Regions from separate parts of the Homo sapiens genome. Here regions 1, 3, 4, 5 and 6 are each linked to region 2. Evidence: promoter capture Hi-C in 16 types of primary human blood cells and fetal thymus (Javierre and others, 2016). All regions are on one chromosome and are shown on one strand. Each heading gives the region's core, a stretch centred on a gene start or on the middle of the fragment in contact. The rest is flanking DNA. Distances are from core to core; before and after follow the strand shown. Region 1 has its middle 6.1 kb from the start of PCTP. Region 2 holds the start of COX11 (cytochrome c oxidase copper chaperone COX11). Region 3 holds the start of SMIM36 (small integral membrane protein 36). Region 4 overlaps SMIM36 (small integral membrane protein 36). Region 5 overlaps LOC102724732 (a long non-coding RNA gene). Region 6 overlaps PCTP (phosphatidylcholine transfer protein).

Evidence for each region. Contacts are between HindIII fragments. The CHiCAGO score rates a contact against its expected background, and 5 or more counts as called.
Region 1: a fragment that was not itself captured here is called in contact with the fragment with the promoter of COX11 in region 2 in 1 of 17 cell types (total B cells); the score reaches 6.6 in total B cells.
Region 3: a fragment that was not itself captured here is called in contact with the fragment with the promoter of COX11 in region 2 in 7 of 17 cell types (naive B cells, total B cells, fetal thymus and 4 more); the score reaches 8.9 in naive B cells.
Region 4: a fragment that was not itself captured here is called in contact with the fragment with the promoter of COX11 in region 2 in 1 of 17 cell types (total CD8 T cells); the score reaches 6.4 in total CD8 T cells.
Region 5: a fragment that was not itself captured here is called in contact with the fragment with the promoter of COX11 in region 2 in 1 of 17 cell types (total CD4 T cells); the score reaches 5.7 in total CD4 T cells.
Region 6: a contact is called between a fragment that was not itself captured here and the fragment with the promoter of COX11 in region 2, in 1 of 17 cell types (naive B cells). The highest score is 5.5, in naive B cells.

The regions. Positions count from the first base shown.
Region 1 is chr17:55,742,722-55,747,201 of GRCh38, forward strand. No RefSeq gene overlaps it. Among named protein-coding and RNA genes, the nearest start is that of PCTP, 6.1 kb to the right of the region's middle. The HindIII fragment of the contact is 3,537 bases long and covers 1-3,164 here.
Region 2 is chr17:54,966,662-54,971,457 of GRCh38, forward strand. COX11 (cytochrome c oxidase copper chaperone COX11) reads right to left here and starts at 1,993. Exons shown (of 4, transcript NM_004375.5): 1 at 1,620-1,993. The coding sequence starts at 1,985. It overlaps STXBP4 (syntaxin binding protein 4), which reads left to right and starts at 2,104. Exons shown (of 18, transcript NM_178509.6): 1 at 2,104-2,154. RefSeq lists enhancers at 1,063-2,012, 1,862-1,921, 1,932-2,011, 2,013-2,961, 2,192-2,291 and 1 more. The HindIII fragment of the contact is 10,915 bases long and covers 1-2,253 here.
Region 3 is chr17:55,507,966-55,512,145 of GRCh38, forward strand. It overlaps SMIM36 (small integral membrane protein 36), which reads right to left and starts at 3,487. Exons shown (of 5, transcript NM_001395421.2): 1 at 2,914-3,487. The coding sequence starts at 3,369. The coding sequence ends at 3,088. The HindIII fragment of the contact is 257 bases long and covers 1,347-1,603 here.
Region 4 is chr17:55,482,082-55,486,831 of GRCh38, forward strand. All of the region lies in intron 1 of SMIM36 (small integral membrane protein 36), which reads right to left. Among named protein-coding and RNA genes, the nearest start is that of SMIM36, 27 kb to the right of the region's middle. The HindIII fragment of the contact is 808 bases long and covers 1,994-2,801 here.
Region 5 is chr17:55,576,119-55,580,862 of GRCh38, forward strand. LOC102724732 (a long non-coding RNA gene) reads right to left here. Exons shown (of 3, transcript XR_429997.4): 3 at 4,452-4,684. Among named protein-coding and RNA genes, the nearest start is that of SMIM36, 67 kb to the left of the region's middle. RefSeq lists enhancers at 1-1,095, 775-844. The HindIII fragment of the contact is 3,156 bases long and covers 391-3,546 here.
Region 6 is chr17:55,759,583-55,764,323 of GRCh38, forward strand. All of the region lies in intron 1 of PCTP (phosphatidylcholine transfer protein), which reads left to right. Among named protein-coding and RNA genes, the nearest start is that of PCTP, 11 kb to the left of the region's middle. RefSeq lists a silencer at 4,326-4,620. The HindIII fragment of the contact is 4,198 bases long and covers 1-3,523 here.

The DNA of each region.
Region 1 (4,480 bases), core at 146-2,645, 780 kb after region 2:
TTGCTCATATTATCTGTTTAATCATGTCAGCAAATCCTTGAGATCGGCATTATTATTTTTACATCACTGTTAAGTAAACAGGTTTAAAAAATTAAAGTGACTTGTCTGGTTCTTAAAGTGACTAGAACTTGTCCTTGACTCTTGTCTTGGGAATCCACATACAAAATTAATTCTACAATGTGAAAAATATCTTTAGGGGAAGTGAGAAGTTCTGGTCTTACCCAGATGTTTTCTCTATGATACCACGTATTTCATTCACTTCTCAATTGCTCGGTGCATAATAGCTTTTACTAGTAAATAAGAACAGATACAGTAGCCTCTCCTTAGCCATGGTTTCATTTTTTCAGGTTTCGGTTACTTGTCAACTGAGGTCTGAAAATATTCAAAGGGAAAATTCCAGAAATAAAAGAATTCATAAGTTTTAAATTGTGTGCCATTCTGAACAGCGTGGTGAAATGTTGCACCATCTCAACCCCTTCCACCTGGGACATGAATTATTCCTTTGTCCAGTGTATCCACTCTGTCTACGTTGAGTGACTCACCTGCTGGAAGGCAGCCAGCTCAGTTATCAGATTGTCTTGATAATTCAGTGCCTTTCTTCAAGTAGCCCTTATTTTACTTAATTATCCTATGTAATGAATAGTTATTGTTGTTAATATCTTACTGTGCATAATTTATGAACTAAATTTTATCACAGGTATGTATAGGCAGGGAAAATCATAGTGTATGTAGGGTTCAGTAAAGAAAAATCATAGTGTTTGCAGGGTTCAATACTATCCGTGGTTTCAGGTACCCCCTGGGGGTCTAGAAACACATCCCCTGAGGATAAGGGGATGTATACTGTATACTTTTAGTATCTCAATTTCTTGAAAAAAGTTGATCAACAGGTAATGCATGTGTGTTCTCTATGCAGTTAGACATCTGTGAACATTCATTCATTTATTTTTAATAGCATTCCAAAATGGTGTTTTTTTTCTGCTATTTTTTCATTACAATTATACCTTTATTAGAATTTTTAAATTTAAATTATGTGTAATTCAAAAACACCAAAAGGGGCAGATAGTAATAGAACATTCATGAACCCACCACCCAGCATATACATTAATATCATGCCTTATTTACTTTATACTTTATTTAAAAAATAAAATATTACAGCTACCACTGAAGTTAATCTGAATCCCTCCTATTTACATTTTAAACACTTCAGGGCATATGTATAGTTTATAAACACTATGAAGTTTCTTGCCCTGTACATCCTTCTGTGACTTGCCTTTTTCATTTAACAGTTTTCAAGATTTATTCATGATATGCAAGTATATATATTGTTTATTTAAAAAACTATCAGATGAACATATTTATTTATTTATTTACTCTGTGGTTGGTGGATATTTATGTTGTTTCCAAGTTCTTTCCACTAAAATAATGTGCATCCTTATGCAGTATTATCAGTTCTCTCAGGTATACTCAAAAGTGGAACTGCTGGGTCAGACTGTGTGTATTCTCACATTTAATAGGTCTTGTTGAGTTGTTTTTAAAACTACTATTTGCACTTTAACCAGAATGTTTTATGTTGGAACTTCCATTTCCCTGAAAATTCACCAACACCTAAAGTCAGATTTTAAAGTTTTTGCCAATTTTCTGTAAATGAAATGGTACAACTGATTTTGCATTTTTCCAATTACTATGTAAGTAGAACAGCTTTTCCTTGTATATATGCTGTTTGGGATTTTCCACTGTTCATATTCTCAGTTGCATTATTTGGGCTTTCTTATTGATTTCTGAAATTTTGTTGTATATTTTCAATATTGATCCTTTGTTGGCTATGTGAGTAACAAATGTCTTCTACCAATCTATGTGATGGATTTTAATTTGTTTATAGTGTATGACTGAACAGGAACTCTTGCTTTTTAAAGTAGGCAATAATTAATCTTTTATGGTTTGTTCTGTATTGTGTCTTTAAGAATTTTTTTTTAACTTTTAGGTCATAAAGATTTACTCCTATATTATAATTTAAAAGTTTCCACATTTTGCCTTATGCAGTTGGTTCTTTACATGTCTGCAATTTCCATTATTGTATGATATGATACAGGAATATAATTTTAAAAATAACAATAGCCAGTTGTTCCAACAGCAGTTTTAAAATTGTCCATCCGTGCTTATGTACTGTGTTTCGAAATGTACATGGACTTGATGATGGATAGAAAGCTGTTACATGAGTTTTTTTTAAATCACTTTTTCCCTAGCCCTAGGTCAATATGATATTATTTTCTTTATGATAAATCCTAATATCTTACAGGGAATATTTTTATTTTTTCCCTCCTACTTTAAAAAATTGCTTTCCTATGTTTTCAAATTGCATGACCTTTAACACTTCCTTATGAATTTTAGAATTGGTGTGTCAAGTTCCTTGAACACCCTTTATGGAAATCTATTTAAATACCATTGGATTTATAGTTTGTATAGATAGAAATGGTGTTTAAAATATTAAATATCTTAAGCCATATGTATAGTATCAGTGAGAGGTCAGTGCAGAAAACAAACACTCTCTAGGTATCTAAGCAGAAATGAATTTAATACAAGGAATTAGTTGTGGGCTAGCTCCTGGAATAAGTATGTATTTGTTTTTTTTTTGTTGTTTCCAGATGTATAGGGGGCAGAAACTGGCTATTTTTGTTCATTTGCTCCTTCTTCTTTTTCTTTTTTCTTTTTTTGCATTGTCATTGGAGAACAGTATTGATTCTTCTGTATTTGTTGAAAACATCCTTTGTGGCTTACAAGATTGCCAATTTTAATGAATGTTTTATGAGGATTTGCAAATGTTGGTGTGTTCTACTTATTGAGTATGAGGTTCTATATATGACCTTTAGATCAAGCGTATGAGTTTTATGCTTAAATCTTCCCTATCTACCAGTTTTTCTGTCTGCTTGGTCAATTTCCTAAAAAAGAGCCTTAAAATGTTCCACTGTAATGATGAATTTGCTGATTTCTCCTTATACTGATGATAATTTTTGCCTTACATATTTGAGATTAAGTTGTAAAATGAATACATACAAATTTAAGCATTCCGAGTACCTGAAGAGTTATCCTTTTACCATTAACTCAGAAACTTCTATTAACTTTTTTCTTTTAAAGTCCATTTAGTCTGATATTTTAGGAGTCACACAAGCTTTCTTTTGTTTCAGATTTACTTGTATATATTTTCCATACCTTTAACTTCACATTTCTGTGTAATTATGTTTTAGTTATTGTCTCTTATAAATACATATATCTGGGTTTTTCCTAAATTTTTATTTTGAATAATTTCAAATATGCAGAAAAGTTGAAGAAATAGAAAATAAAATCCTGGCTACCTTTCATCTAAATTTATCAATTATTTATTTTGTCACTTTTGCTTCTCTATCTATATATCAATCACACTTTTTTTAATGGAACCATCTGAACATAAGATGCAAGTATCATGCTGCTTCACCCCTAAATAATTCAGCATTCATTTCTCAAGAATAAGAATATTATTCCACTCAACCACAATAACATTTTTTACACCTACAAAGTTAACAATAGTTTTATAATATTTTCTAAAAGTGGTGCATAAACAAATACCCCCAATTATCCCAGAAATGCCTTTTAATGGCTTTTTCCTAATCCACGACTCAAGATTTATGCATGACACATAATTGTTATTTCCCTTGACTTTTAGAATAGTTTCTTTCATATTGAATTGTTTTAGTAGTTATTCTGAGGAATTTTCCACTTACTGGATTTGTCTGATTGGGGTCTTATGACTAGTTACAAGTTAGATATTTTGGCAAAAATGTTTAGGTGATATTATAAACTTATTGCATCATGTCATGGAGGCTGTGATGTCAGTTGTCCCACTATTTGTGATGCAATTGATAGCTTGGTTAAGGTGGCAACCACTAGATCTTCCCATTATAAAGTTACACTTTCCTGACTGTACGTAGTAAGTAATCAATGGGTGATTCTTTGCAATCAAATGAAAAGTCTAATCTGCATACCCTTTCACCCAGTGGTTGCAGCATCCATTTATGATCCTTGCCTAAATCTATTAATTATTAATAGGGGGTCAAAGAATGCAAGTTTTCAAATGTTGACATTCTTTCTACCTGAATTTTTTGGCATTCTTTTCTAAAGAAGAAATTTTCTCCTCTCTGTCTTCCCTATTTTTCTTCCCTACTTTTTTTTTAATTGAGTAACACTGTGGACACACAGATTTCTTTTTAAATCCAATATTTTATAATCTATTACTATAACTATTCTTTGTGATCTCAAATTTCCCAAAATTTGGAGACTGGGAACTCTTTCAAGCCAACTCCCATATCTTTTAGACATAACTCTAATTGTCTTTGAACGTCTCTCCTTATTCTCAGGCACAACATGTTTTAGGCTTACTTTAGAAGTTCCCTGCCCCAGTTCTAGAATCAGTCTTTTTTCCAAGAATCTTTTAGTAGACAATGATATA
Region 2 (4,796 bases), core at 743-3,242:
GGATCTAGATTTGCTGATTTGGATTCAGTTCTGCTTATGATTTAACCAACTGGTAGTTTTAGAATTCATGCTTGGGCTTGGTCTCTGATGAAAAGTAATTCACATTCTATACTCATCCTCAAAATCAACTATTGCACATTCCCACATAAATGCTGGCATTAGGAGACTATGCCAGAAAAGAAAAGTCCTTTTGTCTTCTGCTTCATCATCTAAAAGAAAGGTAAATTGATTTCCACGGGCATGGTGGCTCACGCCTGTAATCCCAGCACTTTGGGAGGCCAAGGCAGGAGGGTCACTTGAGCCCAGGAGTTGAGACCAGCCTGAGCAACATAGGGAGACCTCGTCTCTACAAATTTAAATAAATAAACGTGCGCGCGCGCGCACACACACACACACACACACACACACACACGGAAAGAGTGAACTCCAGCTAAGAATACCAGTCATGGTGTTAAAAAAACAATTCCCAAACTTTCCTGCACGCTGGAATCACCTAAAACATACTTGACAATTACTGATGCCTGGTTCCCACTGTGGCCTTGTGATAAAATGGGTAATGTGTGTGGATTTTTAGAAGCTGTCCAGGTGATTCCCAATGTTGCTGTACAATGAATTTTGGGAGCCACTATCTTAAACACTTACTGAATCACTTGTGGCATGATTTTTAAACCGAAATTCCTGTCCCTACCCTAGACTTCCTAACCAGAATCTCTGGGGTAGGGGATCCCTGGAACGTGTATTTAACGTTAAGCTCCATAGGTGATCCTAATGGCCAGCCAAAGCTGCAAATTATTAGCTAAGAACAAAGGAGAAATCTCTAAAATACGTGAAACTTGTCTTTGCCTGTGGTTCTCAAAACTTGCCCTCAAAATCAACTACAGGACTTAACTAAAATATAGAGTGCTGGTCCCACTCCCCTTCTTCTCCCCGCCCCACCCCCCCACCCCGTGTTTCTGACTCAGTCCTGGAGTCGGGCCCTAGAATTTGCACTTTTAACAGGTTCCCGGGTGATGCTGATGCTGCCGGTCCTGGGCGCCACACTCCCAGAACCGTTGCAATGTACTTAACAGTTTCCAGGTTAAGTACATTACAGTTATATATTAACAGGGGTGGGGCGAGAGAGCCTCAAAGGCCTAATTCATGCCTCTTTGTACGGAGGAACTGCTAATCCCAGTTTAAGCCCAAGAAACACGAGTAGTCCAATTTCCAGAGTTACCCTTGGCACATAAACCACATGTGGTTTGCAGAGTGAATGTATGAATAATACATTTTAAAAGCGTGTGTGCGCAGGAGGGTAAGGCAGACTGCTAGATACCCGGTTAGAGGCTGCGGACCTTTTTTTTTTTTTTTGGCGAGGTGCAGTTCATAGATCAGGGGTTTCACTCTGCAGCATGGTATAAGCACAATCACTAAGAACTGGATGCTACTTGCAGTTTTGTCACCAATTTCTTTGGTGACTTTGGGTGTTAAGTGACTGTTTTGAACCTCTCTCCTCTTAGGTAGATAATATCGGAAACCTCTTCCACCTACGACCCGCAGAGCGAGGGCTTGTCCCGGGATTTGTCTTGCACCCCCACCTCTCGCGTCTGCGCCACCCTGCGGGCGGCGCCGGCCCCTACCTGGCAATAGAGCCGATAAAGGGGTACGGCAGCGTAGGACGCCCCCAGCATGCCCACGGCGACAGCGGCCACGTAAGTGAGGGTCGTCTTGTTCTGCCGCCGCCGCTCCTCCTCCTGCGCGCGTGTGAAAGGGTTCGAGCTCTTAGGCCGCCGCGGCGGCTGCAATGCTGGATGCCGGGCTCGAAGGCTGCAGCGCTTCCATGTCCCAAGCCACCTCAGTCCTCTCTCGGCACCTCCTGTCCCACTCCACTCTGGCCTAAGAAACGGCTCTACCCTCTCTGCAGCCCTGGTTGGAGACCCAGGGTGGATCCAGCGCCAGCCACAGAAAGGAACGCACCTCCATCCAGGACGCCAGAGCCCTCCCATAACCCTCTGAACTAACACCCACCCGCCTCTCAGGGACGAGAGGTCAAATCTCGCGAGGCGTGCTCCGTCTCGCGAGATCTGGGTTGAGCCTGCCGCTGCCTTGGCTACCAGGCTCCTCAGGTGGCAGCGCTTGCAGTCGGGCTACGGAGGCCGGGTTGCCAGATTACGGGTAAGTTTGCGTTTTGCTTTGTGACTGTTACTCCCACTTCGCTTCTCGCCAGAACGTCTCTTAACATTTAGGAAAATGCGTTTCGCCCGTCCGCGTGCAAGCTTGCCATCACTTGGGGTTGCGCCTGTGATCTTTATTTAAACTCCACCAGCCTTTGTCTCGACCCGGCAGCCCCGGCGACGCTCTCCCGCGGTCTTTTCTCCTGGGGTCCCTTGGCCGCTGGCTCCTGTGCTCACTGCCCTGGACTTAGTTCAAGTATCACCTCTCTCAGGAAGCCTTGCTGTGTTAACCGCAGCCCTCATGGGCACCCACGACACCTGCATTTTCTCAGCCCGTGGGCAGTCGGCTTCCCCTGCTCTGATGCCCCTTACAACTTGCCCAGTGGAAAGCACCACAGCTGGAGCAGGAGGGAGGCTGTCACGCTGAAGTTTGTTCTGGAGAGAGTGACCAGGATAGGAGGGCCATTTAAGGAGAGACTGAAAGAAACGAACCCCGTGGGAGGATGTAATAGCTTTCTTCAGTTGTCCCACAGGACGAACTCGAGGGGGGCAGACAGCATAGCGGATTTTACTGTGTTAGAAGGAAGCATCTTTCTAGAAACTATAAAATAGCAGTTAAGAGCTCAGGTTCTGAGGTTAGGGGGTTCTGGATTTTTACCCGGGTCCTCACCATGGCCCTGTGCCCTTAGGTCAGTTACTTGTCCTCTAAGACCTGGTGTCCTTACTTGTAAAATGGAAATCAGAACAGTAAATGAATAATATTCATATAACGTCTTTCATGATGACTGAGGCATAGTAAGAATGTAGTTAAAAGTTAGGCTGTATTTCTACTTGCTACGTGGCCATTTCTAATGGCCAGAGCAGGTATAATTATCCCCACTATGTGGATGAGGAACTTGGAGGCCTGAGAAATTTTAACTAGTCATTCGACATTTTATTTATTTATTGCCCTCTCAACTGTGGGCCTGACACCAATCGACCTGCTGGCACTATAGCACAGAACAAGTCGGGAGATCACTTCAGTGATGGAGTGTCCTTTCTGCTGAGGGACTCAGAAAATAATCAAGTAACAGTTACCGAAATAAGGGAATTTCAGATAACAATCAGTGCAGTGAAGACAATGTAATAACATAGTATGATTGACAGTCATGAGAAGCGGTAGTAAAGTAAGGACGTTTTGAAGAGGTGACATTTGAGTTTAGATCTGAACGATGATAAGGAGCTACCTACTCAATAACAATTCCAGGCCAAGCAAAGGCCCAGGGGAAGGAAAGAGATAGAATGATTGAAGAACAGAAAGAAGGCCACTGTGTTCCCAACATAGCAGAGTGGAAAGTGGTAGGAAATGGGGTCAGAACAGGTAACAAAGGCCTGGTAATACCAGCCTTTTAAGCCATGTCCAAGGGTTTGGATTTTATTCTAAAAGTAATAGGAAGCTATTGGAATGTTTGACACATACAAGTGATGTGATCTGACTCACATTTTTGAAAAGATATTGATTACTTTGTGGAGAATGGATTAAAGGTAGGGGGAGGAATGGAAGTAGAACAATTAGGAAGCAATTGCAGTAGTCCACATGAGTGATGATGGTCACCTTGAGTGAGTAATTGATTAACTTGTGGTCACAGGGCCAGAAAATTGCAGAACCAATAAAATATAAATACCTTCTGACTTCTTTCTATACTCTGGCATACTGTCTCAAAAATTTCAGGTCTCCATGATTCTACAAATTTATTCATATTGTGTGATGACAGTGTTTGAAAATCTTTTTCATCTGCATGCACCTTGGTTCTTGTACCAGATTCTCAGCTCTTCTAGGATGAGATTTCTCAAAGTTTAATTTTCTTACAGCATAGACTGAAATCCTTGATACCAACAGTACATTTCCACTCACCATTCTGTTTCTCCAGGCACCCCTTCTTTGTAGCTCCAGGTAGCAGTATAAATATATGTCAGTATACAGTCTTTGTCTTGGACTCCAGTATTTCATTTTTTGTATAATAATTGCAAAATGAAACTCTTATGTACAGTGATATTGATAGCAATGAAGTGGTGTTGGTCTTTGTAGCTTTCTACTTTAATAAAAGAAAATATGCATTGTATCTGATCTTAGTATGATAATGTGAAATGACAGTTCATGTTTATGAAATACTTCTGAATGACAACTAAATATTTTGGTTTTTTACTTATATTTTGAATGAAATGTGTAGAACATAATTTAGTTCAATGTCCAATTAACAAACATATTAAACAATTTAAAATATTTCTGCAACATAATAGTACTCAAATTTCTTGTATACCCTTCACCAAGATTAGAGAATGATAAAGATTCTTCAGTCTTTATCTGCATACTTACTTGTTTATTTCCTATTACAAGAACACTTTCTCCTTCCAAACCACAGAGCAGGCATCAAAATCAGTAAGTTAATATTTATCCAGTATTACCATATGTAGTCAGCTTGGACTACCAATAGCAAAATACCACAGACTGGTTGCTTAAACAACAGAAATACTTGTTTCTCAAAGTGCTGAAGGCTGGAAAGTCAAAGATCAATGTATCAACTGATTCACTTCCTGGTGAGGGGTCTCCCTGGCTTGTGACATCTACCATCTTGCTGTGGCCTTACATAGATTGGAGTAAAT
Region 3 (4,180 bases), core at 225-2,724, 540 kb after region 2:
CTGGAGAAACCCTGGGTTGGGCATGACTGGTGCTTTTACCAACACAAGCCTAAGGGACCCCTCTGGCTGCTGGATTAGCCCTAAATGCAACCATTTGGTTTACTGGTGTAAATATGAGCTATTAGTGTCTGGTGGTGCATTAGAGTGGCCCCAACCTACTGCTTTGCCTTGTAACAAACACACAATGAAAAGAGCAGAGTTGAGTGTTGTATTTACACTGCCTGTCTAAATCTGGTTTCATAGCCCAACATCCCCCTCACCCCTTCCACAAGGATACTCATTAATGCTGCCACAACCAAGTTAGTGCCTTGTTTTCTACCTCTAAGAGTGCAAAACGCAATAAAAAGGTGTCAGTATTTGTCCTGAAAACAAACAAACAAAAAAAGAAATACATACATTCAATATATATATTCTCTCTATATATTCCCGTAAAATATATACATATTTTATATATATATTCCTAGGAATATATATATATATATATATATATATATATATATATATGAACCTGCCCTTTTCTTAATGTGAGCTTCATCTGAACTAACCTTCTTATTTCTTTCCCTTTCATGGGAATATAAGTATATAATATATAAAGGGTAGGTTCTTAGAAACTGCCTGTGAATTTATGGTGTTTCTTCATTCAGTTTATATTTTCATTATAAAAGTGAAGATGGTGGCTGAGCGCGGTGGCTCACGCCTGTAAACCCAGCACTTTGGGAGGCCGAGGTGGGCGGATCACCTGAGGTCGGGAGTTCGAGACCAGCCTGGCTAACATGGTGAAACCCCGTGTCTACTAAAAATACAAAAATTAGCTGCGTGTGGTGGCAGATGCCTGTAAGCCCAGCTATTTGGGAGGCTGAGGCAGGAGCATTGCTTGAACCCGGGAGGCGGAGGTTGCAGTGAGCCGAGATCGTGCCATTGCACTTCAGCCTGGGTGATAAGGGCAAGGCTCTGTCTCAGAACAAAAAAAAAAAAAAAAAAAAAAGTGAAGATGGCTTCTTGCTCATAAAGAAAACAAATTTCCTCTGAAGGGTTTTCAATATAGTTTTTAAATCACATACTTAAGAGAAAATATAATCTTCTGATAAAATAAGAAACAAATTAAATTAAAAATAAACATCAAAACCTGAAAACAAAGTAACTGGGATTATCTTCACGTTTGTTACAGCTACTTAACAATCCAAAGGCAAAACAGTGCTCATTGTCAAAGCTGGCAGGGCAGGCTGGCCAGGCCCTCCTCTTCAGTTTTCTACAGGAGAAACCAAAATTGAATTTCTCACGTTTTCTTCACATGTTGGACACCATCAGACCTTCACAACCAATGGACTCTAATTATTTTGCTTTCAAGCTTTGTTTTTGTTATTTCTTCTTCTAAAAGGCCATCTCCTGTCCTACCCTTCAAGATTCCAACATACTTTGGTTCTTCTGGAAAAATAACTACTTATCTTTTAAGACAAATCATCTTATCTTTGGTACCTGAGTCTAAGATGAAATTGGCCATTCAACATTATTCGAATATTTCTTGAGTGTCTTCTGTGTGCCAGACACTCGTGTCTCTGTTGACTCCTGCATCCTATGCAGACTTCTAAAAGAGCATCTGCAAAGCTTTCTTATCTTTCATTGTCTAAGTCATGCCTGACCCTGCTTCCTTCTGTTGGGCGGCAAAGATCATATGGCAGGGTCATGACACTCATTTCTCTTTATTTCCACACAGGTCCTGATGGAAAGAAGAGGTTCAGTAAATCTCAAAGTAAATACATACGTTTCTCTGAGCTCAGGGAAGGGAGGGTTAATAAAAATACACACAATGGAGATAATAATTCAAAAATTTTGGAAATAGACTAATGAACAGGGGAAAAAACATACCATTCAACATCAACAAAGAGAGTGAAGGGAGAGCAGGCAGTGTTCTGGGGACAGATACACCAAGCTGTGGGGTCTCAGAATTCTTTCAATGAGTTTTCAATAACTTTGTATTGGATCAGGCCGGATTTGAGGATTGGAGATTAAATTTTTTATGAGGCATATGGAAGGAAATATTATCAGTGATCATCATCATAGCTAACCCTGTGTGTCAAGAACTGTCTCAAGTGCTTTTGGTGAATTAACTCATTTAAATAGCCCCAAAAGCTTAGTGGTCCAATCACTATCCCTGAGACACAGAGGTGGCTCAACTTAACCATGGCCACACAGCTAGCAAGTAGAAGAGGCAGGATTTGAACCCAGGCTCCAAGCTTTGTTGTTTTAGTTGTATGCATTCCTTATTCTGTCTTGGAGTTGGGAATAGAACGTGAAGAGCTGGTAGGTACAGAAATAATAATGTTCTGAAGTCTGAACAAGTTCAATGGGGTTGCCTTGACTGGGTGCAGCAGCTCACATCTATAATCCCAGCATTTTGTGAGACTGAGGCAGGAGGATTGCTTGAGGCCAGGAGTTCAATACCAGCCTGGGCAACATAGTGAAACCCCATCTCTACAAAAAAAAGACAGGCGTGGTGTCATGACCTTAGAGTCCTAGCTACATGGGAGGCTGAAGTGGGAAGGTTGCTTGAGCCCAGTTCAAGGCTGCAGTGAGCTATGATCACGCTGCTGCACTTAAGCATGGGCAACAGAGCAAGACTCTGTCTCTTAAAGAAAAGAAAAATAACAACAAAAAACTGGTTGCCTTGGAAAGAAAGAATTTGCAAAGAATAGACTAGACTGGAGTTAGTCTCATTCCTTATCACACACACGCACGTGCACGTGCACACACACACACACACAATATTGCATCCTTTCTCAAAAGTCATTCTCTCCTGTGAGTTGCAAGGACAGCAACATCAGAAATGTACCAGTAACCAACTTCATTATACTACAGCATTGCTGACAGTTTGCATTTGGAGAATTTGACTAAAGACCACTTTGGGCTTCTTACCTTAAACAGTTACTTTTGTCACAAAGAAGGTGACGAGAAAACAGCAAGTAAGACAGAGCTCTCACTTCCTTCATCAAGCGGGATACATGTGCTGAGAGAATTGGAGCCACGATAGGGAGCAGTTTGTCTCTATGGAAAGTCTAGTGGTCTCTCCCCAGTGTCCCTTAGCCAGCCTCATACCATGGTGCTTTTCTTTCCTAGTGGAGCAGGATCCCCCAAAGAAAGGCCAGGCCCCTTTGGCCAGTGGGGCCCAGCGACACTTGGGTGCATCACCACCAACCGGATGGAGGGCTGGGCCTCGAGAGTGGCCTCGGGCGCGTACTCCTTACTGGGATCCTTGCCTCGGCAGTCGTATAGCACGCAGGAGATGAGGAAGACCAGGAGCAAGATGACGTAGCTCGCAACTAGGATGATCAGGTTCAAGGTAACAGGGTCGATCTCCAAGTAGAATTCCATCACTTCTCCCACGGTGGAGAAGTGGGTCTAGAGAAAGGCAATTGGGGTCAGTTTGGGCATTGCAGAGAGCAGATCTTAGAGCATCGGAATAGCTACATTGGCTCTGGAGTAAAAATACATTAATCCCTACTGCTCCAGGAGACCTCGAGGATTAAAGCTGCTCGGTTTAATAACTTAAGCTTGCTGTTAATACCACAGCCACCAAAACACAGAAGCTGTCTGTCATCAGTTCGCCTACACAGAGAGAGAAAGAGAGAGAGAGAGATGGCTCATGAGTTACTGGATCATGGTATATAAGTAGAGCATTCACATAATTCAGCATCCACACAGGCAGTTTGGTGAGCAAAAGTAAGTGTTGTTAATAAGCACTCCATGATGACAGCTAAAAATTGGATTGTCCTGGACAATTGTGCTGTCTTTGTATAAGGGATGTTTAGTGCCATGTATGGAGTGATTTGGAAGATTAGGTCAGTAGGCTTTGGAAGTAAATGTGATTCTTCAACAAGAAGAAGATACTAGTGCCTGATATTTTCACCCTTTCTTCATTTGTTGCCATGTTTCTCATTAGTTAATTCAAAACTACTTTTTGAGTACTTACTTCCTGTGTTTCAGACACTACACTAAGCAAAGGGGATATGGCAGTGATAAGACAGAGAAGCAGGTAGTCTAGCAGGAAAGATAGCCTTTAAACAGATAATTGCACAATTCGCCATTTAAGAACAGTGGAAATCAGTTTATAAGGGACAAATAGAGGGTAAGAGGACAGCGTGTCCCAGTGTGGGTCAAAAAAGCTTCCATGCAGAAGCAACAT
Region 4 (4,750 bases), core at 1,148-3,647, 520 kb after region 2:
CCTTCTGTTACCCATCAATTGAAGTTGGTGAGCTAGACAGATGAAGACTTTTTGCCATCCTAGTATTAGACGAATCCTAAGACCCTTTCTAAAATTGCAGAGAAAGAAGTTAGAGGTAAAGGAAAGAACTCGTTGGTTGCCACACATAGCATGTGTCCATACTTTTTTCCTACTTCTTAGGCCCTTCAATTATCTTATACTCCCACCGCATCCACAACATCCTCCCCACCTTTCATCTGCCCTACCCTGCCTATCTCATGAGTCCAAATCTATTCCTATTCTTTAGCCTAGCTTCAGTGCCACCTTGTCCAAGAAGTTGTCTGGAACCTGCAACTGAAACTCATCTCTCCTTCTCCAGGCTTCCACAGGCTGTTACCAAGCACTCTCATTGTACTTTTCAATTCAAATCTTATAGATTTTTCCTTTTTAATTATGGTTTCTTCCTCTTAATAGCCTATAGTTTGCTTGAGGACAGAATCTGGATTGATTCATTTCTGTGTCTTCAATAGCACCTGGCATAGTCTTTCACATTTAGTGGGCGTTTTATAAGTGTTTGTTGAATGGATAACAAAGAGACAGCCTGCATATTTGTCATTATTACATTGATAACTACCTTTATCCTTTGCATTTGTCATTGTTACATTGCTGACATAGAGAATTAGAGACTACAGGGAAAACATGTACTTACTGATAGAGGCATTCATATGGAAAATTAGTGCTCTTACTCTTTTTCCCTTAGAAGAATAACAACTTTCCCTTTTCTTAAAATGTGAGACCTGAGAGTAAAGGCATCTGTCAAATAAAGTCATTGAACATTGTAATGCAGCATTACACTTACGACTATAGCTTCAAGGTACATTTGTTTGACACTCTGGTTCATTGGGTCTTAACAAAAGTAGTCTAATAACATATTTGTGTAACATACAGAGATTTCAAAATGTGCACAAACTCTTGGCTGTCAAATGGCAGGCCAAATGGATGCTATTATCCTTGCTTTTTAGATGAAGATTCTGAGGCTCATTGAACTAATGTGAGTTCCTCAAGTTTACATAGGAAGCAGCAGAACCAGGGGGATTTTTTGTCAGCTCTGTCTAGCGTGAAAACCAGCAGAACATTCAGAAATTACAAATTCAAATGTTTCTTGTTGGGTTTGGCCTGAGTGCTCTCTCCCACATATGAACACTCACAGTAAGCATTGATTCTACCACTTTTTGCATTTTCTACCCTGAGATGCTATTGTTATTTTAAAATATGGAGACAGTGTAATAGTTTATTTTATGCATCAACTTAGCTAGGCCACAGTACCCAGATATTTGGTCAAACACCAGTCTAGATGTTGCTAGGAAGGTACTTTTGAAAAGAGATTAACATTTAAATCAGTAGAACAGTAAAGCAGATGACCCTCCATCATGTGGGTGGGCCTCCTCTAGTCAGTCGAAAAGCTTAAGAGACGAGGACTGAGGTCCAGACTGCCTTCGGACTTGAGCTGCAACAGTAACTCTCCTCTGGGTTTCTAGTCTGCCTGCCTGCCCTACATATTTCAGAAATGCCAGCCCCCAAAACTGTGTGAACTAATTTCTTTTTTTGAGATGGAGTCTTGCTCTGTACAGTGGCACAATCTTGGCTCACTGCAACCTCTGCCTCTGGATTCCAGTGATTCTCAAGCCTCAGCCTCCTGAATAGCTGGGATGATGTGTGTGTACCCGCTAATTTTTGTATTTTGAGTAGAGATGGGTTTCACCACATTGGCCAGGCTGGTTGGTCTTAAACTCCTAACCTCAAGTGATCTGCCTGCCTTGGCCTCCCAAAGTGCTGGAATTACAGGCATGAGCCACCGTGCTTGGCCTGTGTCAACTAATTTCTTAAAATAAATCTCTCTCTTTTTCTTTCTCTCTCTCTCTACACATTCTATTAGCTTTGTTTCTCCAGGGAACCCTGACTAATATAGACTGCTCCTAATTTATGAGGATAATTTATTTTATAAATGTATTTAAGCTTAGCATATAAGAACCCATGAATTTATAATGATACAAAATTTTTTAAACAGAAAAAAATCACCATAGCAAAAAACAAACAACAAAAAAAACTCAAAAAAATTAATAAATTGGACACTACTTGAAGTAACTAAGGTTTCAACTTCCCGTTCTGAAAATTGACCATTAAAAGGAAAGAGTTAAGCACTGATTCTGTATACATTGCACTGCAGGATAACCAAGCCCTAACTGAGAAGGGAAAGTTCTTTACAAAAAAATTCTAGCCAATAAATATGGAAGGACTGATAGAGCTAGAGCTGTTTTCTAACATCGAATGTAATAATTGATTCAAGCAATTATCAACAAGGAATGAAACCGTGAGATGAAAGGTAGACGAAGAACTTTACAATGGCTTGATCATGCTTATATTCCCAGAATTCACTCATCAATTTGAGTACCACTAAAAGTGGGACAATCACACATTATAAACCTCCCAGTACAAGGATATTTGCAGCAAACAGAACCATCTGGGAAGAATTCTTATCAAAAAAGATGAGGCTGCATCAGGCCTTTCGCTAATGTCAATGTATAGGAAATATGGCAGATAGAACAAATTAAAGCAGACAGTAAAACAAAAAGACAAACTCCCAATGGGTAGGCAACTAAGAGTAGAGGAGTGTTACTCATAATTGTACTGGGACAAAAGGTATAAACTGGGGCTGTCTCATGCAAAACTTGAGGCGTGGTCACTGTAAGCATGTGGTACATTCTAAAAGATGACTGACCTGGCTTCTGCAAGAAGTCAATGGCATGAGGCAAAGGCAAGAAAGCTTGTTCTAGATTAAAGGAGAGTTAAGAAATATTAGGACCAAATGTGATGATGGACCAGGTTTGGATTCTGATTTCAACTATTAGGGAAATATGCTGCCATTGACTGGGTTTAGCTGATACCAAGAAATCCTTATGTCACAGATACTGTAAGAAAATTGAGGTAATGTGAGAAACTATCCATATTTTTTAGAGATGCATAATGAAATACAGAGGGGTAAAATGACATGATATATATGATTTTCTTTAAAATATTTTATTAAAGGATAGATTAGGCTAATATGGCAAAATCTTGATAATTACTGGTGATAATTTTATGGAGACTGTCTACCATTTTCTCTATGTCTTAGTATATCTGAAAATATTCATAATCAAAATAAAAATCTAAATCTGAAAAGAAACATTTTCTCTCTTTTGTTTTGAGACAAGGTTTTCTTGCTCTGTTGCTCAGGCTGGAGTGCAGTGGTACGATCATAGCTTACTGCAGCCTCAACCTTCCAGACTCAAGCAGTCCCACCTCAGCCTCCTAAGTAGCTGGGACCACAGGTGTGTTCCACCATACCCTGCTGATTTTTTTTTTTTTTCCTGTACAGATGAAGTCTCCCTATGTTGCCCTGGCTGGAGTTGAACTCCTGGGTTTAATTGTTCCCCCCACCTCGGCCTCTCAAAATGCTGGGATTACAGGCGTGAGCCACTGTGTCCAGCAGAAAAAAGCATTTCTTAAAAACCAACATGGTCTATGGTTGTTGGGTCTAAGAACACAACTATTTGCCTATTTATAGTTTATAGAATAATGTTAATATCTAATATACATTGTGCTTGCTAATGAAGTTCTAAGTACTTTGTATGTTATAGTTAATTTAATTCCATAAGCCCTGGAAGGCAGGTATCTACTGTTATCATTCCCATCTTACGTATGAGGAAACGGAGGCACTGAGAAATTAGCTACCCAAGGTTATATGTCAAGTGAGTTTAAAGCTAGAGTTTGAACTAGGCAGTATATCACTAGCATCCATATATATTCTTATCCATTCTACTACTTTATGCTTAATGTTAATTTCCAAGAGTAGAGTAGTATTAATTCTTATGTGACATAAAACAGTGAATTGAGATGAAGAAAAGAAAGAAAGAGCTTTCTTTTTTTTTTTTCCTTTATTCTTTTTTTTTTTTTGAGACGGAGTCTTGCTCTGTTGCGCAGGCTGGAGTGCAATGGCGTGATCTCCGCTCAATGCAACCTCGCCTCCCGGGTTCAAGTGATTCTCCTGCCTCAGCCTCCCAAGTAGCTGGAGCTACAGGCCCATGCCACCATACACAGCTAATTTTTTTTTGTATTTTTATTAGAGACAGGGTTTCACCATGTTGGCCAGGATGGTCTCGATCTCTTGACCTCGTGATCCACACACCTCTGCCTCCCAGAGTGCTAGGATTACAGGCGTGAGCTATGGCTCCCCGCCCAGTAAGAGCTTTCTTTTATGGGGAATCTTAGACAAAATTTCAGAACAGATGAGGTTTACCTTGGCATGTTCCTCTCTCTATCTCTGGGTGCTCCTACCTCCATCTGCATCTCTCCTCATGACCCCAAATGTCTAGTAACTTTAGGCCTTTCTAATTCCTCTGATCAGAACTGGCTGACGATGAATGAAGCTCCACATGCCCATTTCACTAGATTCTAGGTAGTGTGGGTCTGGGTTGGGGCCTTGGATGTTGCATTTCTAATAAGCACTCAGGTGATTTTGATGTAACTTGTCACACTTTTAGAAACAGGGCTGGTGTTTCACTACCCATAAGCGTGCATCGTGCCCTACCTTATATTCTATCCAAAGTGAACTACTGTTCTCCATTCTAAGAATTTCATCTCCAAGTCAAATTTCAATTCCCTATTCCTTACTTTAACATGAAAGGAAAGAAATGGAATCAGACAAATGAATTCACACTAAAATGAGAATAAC
Region 5 (4,744 bases), core at 719-3,218, 610 kb after region 2:
CTCTCTCGTGAACTATTTCAGTGTTTCCACCAAGACTTCATTCTCCACTTAGCAGCCAAAAGGTAAATCTCAGCTAAAAGGTAAATCCTATCCTGTCGCTCTTCTAAAATCCCTCCAGTGGTAACTGGAATAAAATCTAAACTCCTCCCACTGACTCACACAGCCCTACGACACCCGACATTCATAACTTTTGACTCAACTGTTACTATTTCCACTCCCACCCCGAGCCCCACCCCTAACTCCACTCTGGTCACACAATCCTTCTTTCAGTTCTTCAAACATTCCATGCTTATTCCCAGCTAATGGCCTTTGAGCTTGTAGTTCTCTCTTTCTGACATATTTTTCCTTGTTACTTTTGTCTGTCTGTCTCCTTTCGTTATCCAGATCTCAAGCTTAAATATTACATCTTTAGAAAGGTCTTCCCTAACCACCCAATCCAACCTACACCTAGTTTCTCTCCATCAGATCTTTTGACTTTAATTCTCTGCATGATGTCATCATGAGCTGCTATTTCTTCTTGTTTACTTCCTCTTTTTTCTCTGTCTGCCCTTCCCAACCCAACCCCTCCATACATGTCTTGAATTTTAGTTGTAACTCCAGTGCCTACAACAGTGCCTAACACATAGCAGGTGCTAGAAAATAATTTTTGAATACATGAACAAGCAAAGAGGGAAAGGACAATCACTCAGACAAAAGGAGACAAAAGGAGCATAAAGGACTGAAAAAAAATATTCAGCGTAGTGAGAAGCTGGGAGCACAGAGAGTAGGAGGGAGCAGGGTGAAAAGGACAGCGGAGAGCAGAAGCCTCCAGCCCACGCAGCACTCGGAGGGATTTTAAGGAGTTTCATCTTCATCCAAATACTAATGAGAAGGCAGACACAGGGCTGAGAAAAGGATAATATGCTAGTGATCTTGAACTCAAACTGAAAGAGACTTAATAGGAAAAATAAGGCCACTGCTGTAGTGATGGGCCCCCGGGTAGTCAGAGCAGAAATGCACTGACCCACATCAGTTCATTTCTCTCCCCATGGCACACACAGTCATCATCACTTCCAGCCTCGCCACCATGAAGTGAACAACAGCCCGTGGAATGAACTTTCACTTCTTCAAGAGCATAATGCTGCTTTCCAACCCAGGCCCGCCCTGCATGCGGTTTCCTCTACATACAAAGCTCCTCCAACTTCCACATGCCTAGTTAACTCCTTTTTTCCCCTTCATTTCTCTGCTGAAACCTCATTTCCTCAGGAAAAGCCTTCTTGGACCCTCTCCCCGCACCATACTGTGTCAGGGCCCACTGTTATAGTTCCCTGAACTGTAACTCCAAGAAATTACCATTCTTTCTTTCACAGCAGGAATCAGTATCACATGCGGTTGAAAATGAAAGCTGTTAGACTGCGTAGCATCCCACATTTTCTACGTGGTAGCTGTGTAAACATAGGCAAATTATATAATCTCCTTGAAGACTTCAGTTTCATTATCTGTAAAATAGGAATAATAATAGTCCCTACTTCAAAAATTTTTTTTTTTTTTTTGAGACGGAGTTTCGCCTTTGTTGCCCAGGCAGGAGCGCAGTGGCGCGATCTTGACCCACAGCAACCTCCGCCTCCGGGTTCAAGAGATTCTCCTCCTCTCAGGGGAGGCCTTCCCATGCCCCGACAGTGCAGAGATGCCCGACTGTGCAGTCTGGGTTTGGTGGCTGCAGCTGTGCCCGAGGGGGTGGGGCTCCTTCCTGCTCTGTGGAGTGGGAGGCCCGAGTCTGCAGCCATGACTTGGGCTGTTGTGGCTGCACCTGGGGAATTCCCTCCCCATCAGCTCGGAAGTGTTGTGATTCCCACTTGTTGCCAGCTCCACGGAGTGTGCAGCCCTGGCTGAGCTTCGCTGTTGCAGCCAGCGTAATGGCAGCGGCTGCCCCAGATGGGCTGCAGGCGCCATCATTAGCACAGCCCTCTATGAAAAGCATTATGGCTATTTCTCAAAGAACTAAAAGTAAATCTACCATTCAATCCAGCAGTCCTACTACTGGGTATCTACCCAAAGGAAAAGAAGTAGTGATATTGAAAAGACACCTGCATGTATATGTTTATGGCAGCACAATTCACAATTGCAAAGATAATGGACCATCAATTGATAAGTGGATAATGAAAATGTGTTATATATACACCATGGAATACTACTCAGCCATAAAAAATAAACAAAATGATGTCTTTTGCAGCAACTTGGATGGAGTTAGAGGCTATCATTCTAAGTGAAGTAACTCAGAAATGGAAAACCAAATATATATTCTGACTTCTAAGTGGGAGCTAAGCTATGGGTACACAAAAGCATACAGAGAGGTATAATGGACACTGGATACTCAGAAGTGGGGCGAGTGAGCAGGGGTGAGGGATGAAAAATCACATATTGGGTACAATGTACACTCCTTGGTGACCAGTGCACTAAAATCTGACTTCACCACTATACAATTCATCCATATGACCAAAAACCACTTGTACCCCAAAAGCTGTTGAAATAACAAGATTATATGTATATGCGATTATATATATATAATTATATATATGTGTGTGTGTTCCTGGTTTATTTTATATATATAATTTATATATATACATATATATGTGTGTGTGTGTATATATGTGTATATATATAAAACCAGGAGAAATTCTAACTGGGCTAAATATATAAATATATATTTATAATTTCTTGTTTGTTTGTTTGAGACAGAGTCTCACTCTATCACCCAGGCTGGAGCGCAGTGGCGCCATCTTGGCTCACCGTAACCTCTGCCTCCTGGGTTCAAGCGATTCTCATGCCTCAGCCTCTTAACGTAGCTGGGTTTACAGGCATGTGCCATCCTACCCTGCTAATTTTTGTAATTTTAGTAGAGATGGGGCTTTGCCATGTTGACCAGGCTGGTATCAAACTCCTGACCTCAAGCAATTGGTCTGCCTTGACCTCCCAAAGTGTTGGGATTATAGGCGTAAGCCACTGCACCCAACCTATAATTGTTTTTAATAATTATTATAGGCATTACAGCCCAAAAAACTGAATGACATTTCTTCACATGAATCTATTACTCTTACTTATACTGAGAAGTGGATATCATAGCATCCACTCACAACTTAACAGACTACTGACAGACACAGCACAAGGAGTTTTGCATTTAAGGTATCTATGTGATGTTCTTCTACGTGATGTTTCAGTTTTCAATTCCTTTCTCTGTACAACTGTAAACCTTCAATTAAAAAGTGCTCTGTGGGGTCATTTGGCCTTCACTTAGTGCTAATGCAATTAGCGTCACAAAAGCAAGGGCCCTGAAATTGTATGGAAAAACTCTGTTATCCAGTGGTCATCTAGAACAGGCAGAATGTTTTTAGATTAAGTTCAGTGATGTATTATCATTGAAGTGAAAACAGAATTTAAAATTCACATGGAACTTTCAGACCTCAGGGTGTGCTTTTGCTGATACTCATGTGTGTGCAGTTGACGGTTTGTTACAGTGCTACATATTATTGATGTTCCAGTGCTCTTTTTGTATTTCCTCTCTTCCTAAGCTTCCTGGCTGACATAGCCTCTCTGTGCATAGCCTTCTACAATCATCATGTTACCATGCAAATGAAAAGTCTAGTTATATCTATATCTACATTTATCTGTCCTTTTTTTTTTGAGACAGGGTCTTGCTCTGTTGCCCAGGCTGGAGTGCAGTGGTGCGATCTCAGCTCACTGCAACCTCTGCCTCCAGGTTCAAGTGATTCTCCTGCCTCAGCCTCCCAAATAGCTGGGATTACAGGTGCACACCACCACCCCTGGCTAATTTTTATATTTTTAGTAGATATAGGATTTCACCATGTTGGCCAGGCTGTTCTTGAACTCCTGACCTCAAGTGATCCACTTGCCTCGGCCTCCCAAAGCGCTGGGATTACAGGTGTGAGCCACTGTGCCCAGCCTGTGTATTTTTATGTAAATTTAAGGTAAAAAGTAGCACCATTGCGTGCCTTTTCAAAATTGCTCTTTGTTGTATCTTGCATATTATTCCTCACTGATGAGAAATTCTGATAAGATAAATACCACTGAGCAACTATAATTCATGGGAATACTTTGTTTAAGGTTCATGCCTAAATTTCTGTATCACAGATTCCCAAGTCTGAAATTATCTGAAATTATAGCCCATATCCAAATATGCAGCCGCTAAACTCAAGTTAGAACTGTGATTCTTTCTTAGCTGCGTCTTTATTTTCTGTAAATGTGAGAGGATTGCATAAAATAATCACTGGCACTATGGTTAGGCCAAGTATTCTTTGATTCTCAGGTTTCTCATCTGATTTAATTAATCTTTTTTATGGACTACAGTAATGACCCCACTGGACAAGACGATTCATGAGGATTGGAACTTCATCTATTTTCTTTATGCTTTATTCCTCAGCATGAAGTTTTGCACATATTAGGCACTCAATAAGTAAGTATAGAATTAGCATTTATTGAATCTCAATAATATAACCCCAGACATCAGATTTGTCTCTATTCATCAGCCACACAGATCTGATCATGATATTCTTCCACTTCACAATCTCTGAATGGACTCGCATTGCCTACTTAGAAAGTGAAATCTAAATCCCTTCCAATGGCATCTAAGGGCATTCACAATCCAGTTCGCCGTACGTGATGATGTAGTAAAATGTCAGCCAGGAAACTTAGGAAGAGAGGAAAAACAGAAAGTATTAGTACCATTTCCGCCACTCTGCCCTCTGTA
Region 6 (4,741 bases), core at 175-2,674, 790 kb after region 2:
AGATTGGGGGTGTTTCCTGTCCCTCTGAGGAATGGAAATGAGCGCTTCTGTGAGAGGCAAAGAGAACTCAATGCACACTCATGAGTGCATTCACAGGATTTGAGAATATGTGATTTATCAAGACCACCTTGTAGTTAGTGGTGTAAATTCAGATAAACACCATAAATTGGAGGTAATGAGTGGTGCCTTTCTCCAGGCCTGGATGGGTGATGGGACATCTACAGGAGATTACTCCTGTGTGGGGATTGCAAGTGTCATTTGCAAACATTACGACATTTTGACACATCTCATATGTAAATGCATAGCATCTCTTTCAGAGTTTATTCTGTTTGGGACAAATAAGTGTACTGTTGACAATAATATTTCTCAGAATACTTTAACCTTGTAAATATAATTGAAAACAAATTGCACAGATGTTTTTTTTCACGCATTTGAATCACCATTGCTGAGAAATATACCAGTTTAATGTTTCGACAAGTTAGCCAGCACGATAGCATCTCAAAAATTAGTGATAACAGTAACAGATTTCCTGGCCATGCATTCCCCTGTCTCCAGCCTCCATTTCTTCACTTATAAAGTGGAGTTAATGATGCTTACATCACAGGATTATTGCAAGTATTCATGATTAAGCCCAGCCTGGCTTAGAGCAGGTTCACTGTAGATATTGGTTTTCCTGAAAATGTACATTACAGTTCTGAATCCCAGTTCTTTAATCTGGAAAAAGGAGATTATCGTACCTACCTTGTTAATGAAATAGTAACCTACCTTATTAATGGGAATGATATCTAATATTTACTAAGTACTTATTATGTGCACCACATAATAGAACTTTAGATGGATTATCTAGTTTAATCCTCATAATCATTCCATGAAGTAGAAACTTATTAGACCCATTTTGCAGGTTAGTAGTGGAAGAGGTTAGATTCTACCCAGACGGTGAATCTGAGCCCATGCTATTACCACCACACTGTCTTTTCTGACTAGCTTTTCTGATTTATGAGACAGCACTTTGGAATAGTATATGGAAAAACTTGGCACAGTACCTCATCTGTTGAAAGTGATAATATTCATCTTTCTCTATACCTGCCTTTCTCCTGGTTCCTTTCTGAACCCTTCAGAAGCAGCATCTAAAAAAAAATACTTCTTCTGGCCCTTTGGAGGCCTGTTGGGCAAACACACCAGGCTTAGGGACTCAGGGGAGCATCTCAGTGGGAGGTCCGTTCTGGGTGGCCTGGAGCAGGAGTACTGGCTTAGGGAAGGAAAGGGTTCCCATCCAGGCTTTGCCACCAACAGCGTCATCAGCTGACTCTTGGCAAGTCACTCACATTACACAGCTAAGCTAAGACCCCTTCCTGCTCTAAGATCCTGTGTGATGGGTCTTCTTTATCTTTATCATTAGTTTGTGGTCTGGAACAATGATTTGGGAATGACATGCAGAGAAAATACAGCTAAATAAGGAGACATTGTAGGGAATAGAAGGGGCCAGTGTGCAAAGACACACCATTTCTTTCTGTCTGTCCTGTTACTAGCTGTAGGACTTAGGCAAGTAAGTTGGCCTTTCTAAGCATCATTTCCTTCTGTAAAGGTAGAGATAACACCAACTTCCCTATCTACATCACAGGGCTATCTTAGCTGTTACATGAGAGAATGAATATAAAACGTTGGAAAGTGGACCATGCTTAGAAAAACAATGACTAGTATTATTGAAAGAATTTGTAGCAGGTCAAAGGGATTAGAAAACTCCTTCAAATACAAAATACATGACTTTTGTTGTATTGTTAATAAATCATCAAGGGAAACAGAATCCAGTCTGCAGTCAAGTAGAAGCCTCTGCCTGGTTTCTTCTTGGGATCAAGATATAGTGAATACCAGCTGGTATTCACTATATGTACTATAGCAGGTATATATAAAAATATATATACCTACTGGCATTATATATACACATATATATCTGCTGGTATTATATATAAAATATATAATATATAAATATATGTAATATATATTCTATATATAACATTATATTTATGTAGAATAATATTTCTATATATATTTATATATATTTTTTCTGAGTTAGTTATTCAAAGGAGACAGTACTTTTTATAACATGGCATGTAGGGTCTTGTACGCATTTGTGCAAAACTAAATGTTGTATCTCAATTTAATATCCATTAAAGTGTCCATTATCTCTTCCTTGACAGTACATTTTAGCAACATTTATGTACTTCTGTACTGTTTTAATGAATTTATGTATAATTATATTTCTTGTAAATATTCATAAGTCTTACCAGCACTATTCTGTCAGTCTACTTTTTTACCTTGATGTCAGATTTTTAAAAATAAATCTGGACTTGGTAAGGAGAGACTTGTATTCAAATGGATTATTTCAAGGAGTTAGGGAAAGAAGTATTACAGTAGGAAAAGTGCTTTGCCGATAAGCTCTGCAGGCATCTTGGGAGTTGCAGAGCCGTTCTTTTATAAAGAGGAGCAAAGAACGTTAGAAAGAACCATATGCGGGGATGTGGGATGAAAGGATGGCATGATCGGATAGCAGATCAGAGAATACTTTTCCCTGAGCCCAGCCTGTTTTCAGGAGGGACTGTATGCTGGCTCAGGTTTAGGATGGGCCAAAGTTCAGGGGCCTGGAGGAAGGAGAAAAGTTCAACCAGTTGGGTTAACAAGCATTTTGTTCTGGTTGATCAGTGGGGGTGGGCAGCTTAGCTAATCATTTATAAGACAAAGAAAGGGAAATCTGGAGGGTCTGTGTCTGGCCTTGTCATAGGTAAACGGGGGCATCCGTGAGTCTTATCTAAGTCATATGGGGAAGGGTAGTGGATCTTCACAGTAAACTTTATGAAACACAAAAGGTAGGGGATTTCTTAACCTTCACTGTAATCTAGGATGACAGGGTTCAAATAAAATTCAGCATTGTTGATAAGGACCACTATGTCAATTAGGATTGTTTTTAGCTACAAGTAATAGAAAATTGGACAATCAATGACAAACAGAGGCATGTTTATCTCACCTAATAAATAGGTCAGAGTTCTACCTATTGGTAGAGTTTGCTGTCATTGATTTAGCATTCAGTGATGCCAGCAACCCTCTGAGTCTTTCTACTCTGTTTCTCATGTTGATTGCCTCTTGGTCATAGGATAGTTGCAGCAGTTCCAACCATCATGTCCACATTTAAAACAGGGATAAGTCACACGGCTACCTCTCCCTGCAGAGGAGACCAGGGAAGTTATTGGCTGTTTACATTGCCACGGGGTTCTCTTAATAAGGAGAAGGAGTGTTTACCACATCAAGTCTTATGTTTCTTCTGGCAGTTGCATTCTGTACATGATACTGGCTAATTCTCTACTTCCAACATAATCCTTTTACTATTTGAATTGTAGGAAACTAAATGTCTTATAACTGGAGCATTAGAAAAGTATCCATTATATTTTAGTCTAGATAAGGAAATTGAGCCACTGTTAGAGGTGGTTTTCTGGAGGAGCTTCAGGAAAAGCCAAGAATCTCTTGAGTAAGCTTCTTTGGAGTCATTTATTCAAATGTTAGTAAGCTTGGAAAAATAAAACCGATATTGCAAAAGATTTATATCTCTAATTTTAAGAGATCTTACACATCAGATCTTATTATAGTAGCAATAAAAGTTTTGCCAAATAAGTTTTGCTTTTTCATATCAAATTGTTTGTATAAACAATGGTGCCCAACGCTGGTGAGATGCTCCTTTGGAACTGGTGAGAGGAACTGGTGAGAGTACACACTTGGTGCACACGTTCTGCAAGGTTTGTAAAAAGTATAAAGAGCCTTAAAATGTTAATCTACTTATCCTAAAATTTATCTGTAAGAAAACATTTGTAGTAAAAAAAAAAATAGAATTATGGACCAATTATTCTATACAAACATAAATATTCTGGAAATTTTTTTTCATAAAAATATTTGGAAACAAATTTTTTTGGAGAATAATTGAGTTAGGTATGGAGTCTTCATAACCTCAGTATAATATTTAGTTAAAAATAAGAATACAAACTATTTATACCATGTGATTCCCGTTTGATAATGTACAGATGTATTTATTTACTTAAAGGAAATATGTCAAATATTATCAGTAGATATTTTTGGATTATGGGGTTACATGTCACCTTTTAAAAATTCTTTTTGTCATTTTTATAAACTTTTTAATTATAAAAAACTATTTTTTAAAATATGAAGTAAAAATGAGTGTGGTTGCTGAGATCCTTTTTAAAAAGAAATAATGGGTGAGAAAATGCTTTGATTCAAGAATGTGGACCAGGCTGTTCAGCGCTTGGACATTGTATTGATGAAGTAGGAAAGGTGTTGCCGTGTTATGGAGCATTTGGTTCCTCTGGAGCTCTGGCATTGCTCAGTTCTGCCTCGAAGGGAATGTTTAAAGGAAGTTGTCGCAATCGTTCATTCTTCTGTACTCACGCAAATTATGGTTGTTCTATTTTTCTCTTCCTTGAGAACTTCCTGTTCTCATTGTCTGTGCCATATAACAGGATGGAAGTCACTATGGGTTGTAACTACATTCAGGAGAAGAAGAGAACCAGTGTAAGGGAACAGTGTGTTTTAATTTATGCAGATATCCAATGCTAACTTATTTAAAGGTTGGGGAGGTCATTATCTTAACACATAAGAATTCTTGTTGCTTAGAATGTGTGGAAAACAAGGCCTCAGTTTTCTTGAATAATTGCTATTTGTCTCCCTTCCAAAGCCTATG